2 separate regions of the Homo sapiens genome follow, and region 1 is linked to region 2. Evidence: promoter capture Hi-C in human tissues and cell types (Jung and others, 2019). All regions are on one chromosome and are shown on one strand. The core of a region is centred on a gene start or on the middle of the fragment in contact, and the rest is flanking DNA. Distances in the headings are between cores, read along the strand shown. Region 1 overlaps SCUBE1 (signal peptide, CUB domain and EGF like domain containing 1). Region 2 holds the start of EFCAB6 (EF-hand calcium binding domain 6).

Region 1 (2,777 bases), core at 243-2,742, 570 kb after region 2:
CATCTCCGGGGCAGCCCACGAAAACCTGGAGCAAGGCTTCCCTCTGTTGAGCAGCCTCCAGGCTGAGCTGTATGTATAACCAGACATGTTCAATGTTCCCGGCAACCTGCAAGGTTTAGTGTTACAGATAAGGAAACCGAAGCTCAGAGAGGTGAGAGCAGCTCTTCCAGTTCCCTCTATCCTACACCCCTTCCCCTCCAGGGGCAGGCAGGTGATAGCTCTGCCTCCCCAGGCTTTGCACAGGGCCTGGCATGAGCCTGATCAGTGAGTGTGAGCTGCTGTTGATCAGATCCCCAAGCCTCCCTGGGCACACACAGCTGGAGGGTCCGCCTGGTGCACGGAAGAGCACTGGCCCAGCTGCTTCCCAGCTGCCTGCCCTCACCAGCTCCTTCCCCTTACCGCATCTCAACCCTCCAAGCCTCCTGGGGCACGGCCATGATGCCTCCTGTGGGTGGGCCCCAGGGATCCCACCCACAGGGGAGCCCCCTTGTCTGCCCTAAGCACCCTTCACTGAGGAGCCAGGGTAGAGGCAGGAAGTGAAGGAGGCAGGGCAGGGGGAGACTGGCCACTGGAGGCCCTGCTCCTGCCACCTGCTTTAATATGAAACCTCCCTGTCCTCCAAGGGGCACTCGGGACCCCTCAAACCAAGTGAGGAGACCTCTCCTGAGGTCGGCTTGTCTTGCTCCTGGGTGGGCATCTTCCATACACCTGGTGCCACCAGCCCTCAGGCCTCCCTGCAGCCCCCATGCCACAGTCCTGCAGGGCACCGTCCCTCCATCCCAGTGGCTTCTGCTTTCTGAGCAGGTGCGGGAACACCCACCCGCCCACTAGTCACGAGAGAAGGTGGCTTGCCACACTCCTAGCGCATCCTGGAATTGAGGCCCCGCCTGCTGCCTTGGAAGACAGTGCCACTGACAATAATTTGCCTTGCAAATTGTTCCCCAAGCAGCACGGTTCTCAGGTAGACGGAGGCCCTAAGGATGGTGCAGGCCTGTGGGCCTTTTATTTCAGCAGGGCCGGGCTAAGGTCAGCAGAGGGCCAAAATGGGCCTCAGAGTCACGGGGCTGTGTACTAAAAAGGCAGAGTCCAGGAGACCCTGGGCTGCCTCAGAGGCCTGGGTGGCCCTTGGGGATCATGGGCGTTGGGGCCCCGCAGCCTTAGACACGAGCAGCGCTGGCTCTGGAGGAGCCTGCCGGGGTGTCCTGTCCCGTGTTCTCCTTGAGAGCCACTTCCTTGTCAGGGCTGCAGCCTCCACAGTCACCCTGCGTCCAGCCACACTTGAGCCCCACCCCACCCGCGCCACCACCTGCATGCACTGTCACCAGCGTGTCCCCAGGCAGCCCTGGGGCAGACCCAGCCGGCACCCCCCCAGCAGACAGGTCTCAGGATTGACCATTTGCCCAGTGGAGGTAGAGGCAGGCGGGGAGGCGTGGTCAGGACCAGGCGCGGCCCTCTGCTGAGGGTGTCAAGTTCCCTCCACCACACCCTGCTGACTGTCAGAGGCGCAAGGGAGGCCACATTCGTGGTGCCCAGCACAGCGCTGGCCATAAGGCTGCTGCACAACACTAGTGACGGGCCACAGGGCCTCCCCGGAGTTCAGAGGGCCCCTCGGGAGATAGGCCAGCCAGGGAGACCAGGGCCACTGTGTCAGGGGCTTGCCAGGGAGCACGGCGTGGCTTTTATCCCAAAGCGATGGGAGCCATGGAGGGTTCAGCAGCCAGCTGTGGGAAGATGGTCAGAGGTCAGAGGTCCCCAGATCTGCCGGAAGGGCCGGCCAATCCCTTTTCACCGCAGCTTCTGTTGATTCTAGGGACAGAAGGGCAGGTGGGCCAGCCCTGATTGAGGGATCAGCAGGTTCTGGCGAGGACCCCGGGCTGCCCCCATCATCAGGGTAGGCCACTGAGGGGCAGGGAGGAAGAAGGGATGGCAGGGCCTTTGTGGGACGCTGGGCCCATGCCAGACCCACCGGATCAGAGCCTCTGCCCTGGTGAAAAGCACCTCAGCGATGTTCAGGCACAACACAGGTGGGAAACCCAGGGCCTAGGGAGGGGAGGGTCCTTTGCCCACAGTCCCCCCGTGTGCTGGCACTGAGCCTGGCACCCACACCCACTTCCCATTGTGCACCACAGAGCGCCCTTGTGCCCTGCACAGCGCAGCACCACACTGCCTCCTCCACCAGGGGCACATTCGCCCTTCAGTCCTGCCCACCTCGCCTCCCAGCTCACTCTCCCTTCCAGGCCCAACAGAGGGTAGGGTCCCAGTTCCCAGACTTGCTTCTGTTCCTCTTGGGGCCTCCAGAGTCCCTGCTCATTAATCTAGTCATTGAGCACAACTCATTAGACACCTCCGCCGTGCTGGTCACCTTGACGCTGCCCTGCCCAGATAGCGTGTGGTCAGTGGGAGAGGCCTCTGCACACACAGACAGCGCTGCCCTGTGGGGCAGAAGCCCAGGGTAAGGCTCGGGACAGCTTTCGGGGAGGCAGGTGGGGCCTGCTGTGTCCTGAGGAGTTGGTTATTCAAGGCCAAGGGGGGTGCCCTGTGGAACCCTGAGGAACCGTGCTGGGGTGTGGCGGGGCATGGGCTGGGAGGTGGGCAGTGTGAGAGGAAGGCGCAGACCCAGGAGAGAAAGGCGAGGTCTGGGCCTTATTTCATGCCCCCCGCCACTCCATAAACTGTTGACACCTGGGGCATGTCACATTCATCTCTGTAGCTCCCCTCTCCCGGCCACCTAGCACCGTGAAATTGACCCGCCTGTGAAGACCAGTGGCTGTGTCCAA
Region 2 (2,700 bases), core at 150-2,649:
TGAAAAAGCAAGTAAAGTCTTAAGTGTTATGAAAGTATTTTTTGGCCCCATGGACAGTCTGAAAGGGTCTCAGGATCCCCAGGGATTCCCAGACCACACTTAGAGCACTGCCTATAATAAAGAAGGCAAATGGGGAGGGATCCAGGACACAGTTAGAGGGACTGGCCTCTGTAAGAGACCCTCTTTTGGGGCAAGAGGAAAAGAGGCGATGAATGCCAAAGTGATTGTGAAGGAGTGCATTCCATTCTTATGCATTACATTTTCTCAATGGGATAAGACCCATGGTCATTGAGTCCGGTGAGGAAGTAGTGAGTGCGGGAGGTCTGAGACAAGCCATGGGAAAGAATTCTCTTGGTGAACAGGAAAACTAGCTGCCCAGTGAAGTAGTCAGAGTGCCCAGCAGGGACCGCATAGTATCCATCTTTGCAGCACACACCAGGGCACCTAATTGACCTGCCGCAGCCATGTGTGCAAGGAATTCCAAGCTGCACACGTCTGCCTGGCTGCTTCTCTCCCACAGTGAGCAGTGTGGCAGGGTGCCTAAGAGCAAGCTCCATAGGTTCTCATTCTGCTCCTACCCCTGACTGGCAGTGTGTCCTTGAACAAAATGCTCTGTGTGCCTCAGTTACCTATCTGTAAAATGGGAGTAACCACAGCACCCACCTCACAGGGTTGTTGTGAAGACAAATGAAGATGACAATTACATGTAAAGTACATACCTAGGATGGGTGAGTGCCTGGCAAGGGAAGTGCTCCATAGGGTCAGCGACAACAATTACATTCACTCACGTGATTTATGGCGCTTCCACTCGGCCCTCTGTCTTAGTAATAATTCACTCATTTAGCGAATATCAATGGAATGGATGCTTACTGTGGGTATGGGCGGAGGCTGAGGTTACAGCCTGGGCAAAGCAGGCCAGCTCCCGTCCTCACCGGCTGTCTCCTCGAGCAGACAAGCGGACCCAGTGAGACCCGCTACGTGGTGGCACAATGCGAGTCCCCATGACTGCTCACCCTAACGAAGGCGCAGGATGCGGTAGGGGCTTTGCGGACCTCACTGCAGCCAATCCTGACCACAGGCCCCAGTGGGCACGCTTAGCCTTTTACAGATGCAGAGTCTGCTTCTCAGAGCAGGGGGCTGACTTCCCCCGGCTACACGGCCCTATGCAGTTCGGTGGGACCGGGCCGACCGCCCAGCTCGCGCTAAAGCCCACGTAACAGAAACCCGCTCCCATGACACGGGTCGCCAGGGTTCCCGCTCCCCAGAGAACGGGACTTCCGGCGGAAATTTCTTCCGGGAGCGGAGGCGCGGGACTGACCTGGCCCCGCCCCCTCCTCGTTTATCTCCAATTGACCAATCACAGCTCAGCTTCTTGCCAGGCGCGTAGGCTCATTCTCCAGTCAGCGACTGCCGTCGTCTCTCGGGCAACAGCGTCCTAGAGACGCCGAATGGGCAGCCCCTCTGAGACCCCGCGGCTTGGGGTCCGCGCACGCGGGTGCCGGCCCAGCTAGGCGGAGAATCGAGGAGGGGTTCCCGGTAAGGCTGTATTCGGGGTGGCCACGCGCGTGCGACAGGCCGAGGAGGGGCCGGGCGGGCGGGCAGCTCCGTGGGTCTCACTGCCCTGAGAAGGCCGGCGCTGCTGCCCACCCCCAGGGACGAAGGGGTGGTGATTCGTTTATTCAGGTGTTCATGGCGCGTCTGCTTGTGCCAGGCATGTTGTAGGCCCTGGGGCCCTGTGGGGAACAGTAGGGCCCCTGTTCCCGTAGCTTACCTGATATGTGGAGAAGAACGATAAACAACGCTGACGGTGGTGACGTCTTCTTCCCTGCCTCTCTGTGAGAATCAGCTGGGAAATGTGTGTGGAAACGCCCTAAATCTCTCCAGTTTACAACATGTCTCATGCCCCTGATTTCATTTGTGCCCACAGCAGTCTTGTGAATGTCATGATTGACTCCCTCCTGTAGACAGACGAGGACTTGAAACCTGTGGGGTGAAGGGGCTTTTCCAAAGTCACACAACTATCTTAGGAAGTTTCTGAGCCAGAATTCAAACTCATTTCTGTATCACGGCAAAATCTCTGCTCTTTTACACTCTTCTCCCACAGCCTGCACATAATTACCCCTGCCTCCCTCAGAAATTTTGTTTGGAAGCACTTTGTGAGGTATACATCTGTATAGGGCTTACTTGAAGGTTGTCCAAATCACCCCTCTCTCTACTCCCTTCCTTTCTCTCCAAATCTTTGCCTTTCAGGATGTCTTGCCCCTGTTAAGAGGACTCTTCTTTTCTTTTCTTTTTTCTTTTCTTTTCTTTTCTCCCTCCCCTCCCCTCCCTTCCCTTCCCCTTTCTTCCCTTCCTCCCCTCCTCTCTCCTCCCCTCCCCTTCCCCTCCGCTCCCCTCCCCTTCCCTCCCCTCGCCTCTCCTTTTCTTTCCTGATGGAGTCTTCCTCTGTCACCCAGGCTGGAGTGCAGCGATCCCAGCTCACTGCAACCTCCACCTCCCGGGTTCAAGCGATTCTCGTGCCTCGGTGTCCCAAGTAGCTGGGATTACAGGCGCCTGCCACCACGCCCAGCTAATTTTTGTATTTTTAGTACAGACGGGATTTCACCATGTTGGCCAGGTTGGTTTCAAACTCCTGACCTCAAGTGATCCATCCGCCCGCCTTGGCCTAATTTAATATGTGTTCCTAAATGGGTGGCCTTA

The links. Contacts are between HindIII fragments. The study calls those that stand out against the background at their distance.
Region 1: a fragment that was not itself captured here is called in contact with the fragment with the promoter of EFCAB6 in region 2 in 1 of the 25 tissues and cell types used here (lymphoblastoid cells).

Annotation. Positions count from the first base shown.
Region 1 is chr22:43,243,971-43,246,747 of GRCh38, reverse strand. The region is part of intron 6 of SCUBE1 (signal peptide, CUB domain and EGF like domain containing 1); the gene reads left to right. Among named protein-coding and RNA genes, the nearest start is that of SCUBE1-AS1, 31 kb to the left of the region's middle. The HindIII fragment of the contact is 3,857 bases long and covers 1-2,777 here.
Region 2 is chr22:43,811,004-43,813,703 of GRCh38, reverse strand. It overlaps EFCAB6 (EF-hand calcium binding domain 6), which reads left to right and starts at 1,399. Exons shown (of 32, transcript NM_022785.4): 1 at 1,399-1,536. EFCAB6-DT (EFCAB6 divergent transcript) reads right to left here and starts at 1,282. Exons shown (of 2, transcript NR_186822.1): 1 at 720-1,282. RefSeq lists enhancers at 1-793, 1,035-1,304 and a silencer at 1,636-1,877. The HindIII fragment of the contact is 13,383 bases long and covers 1-2,700 here.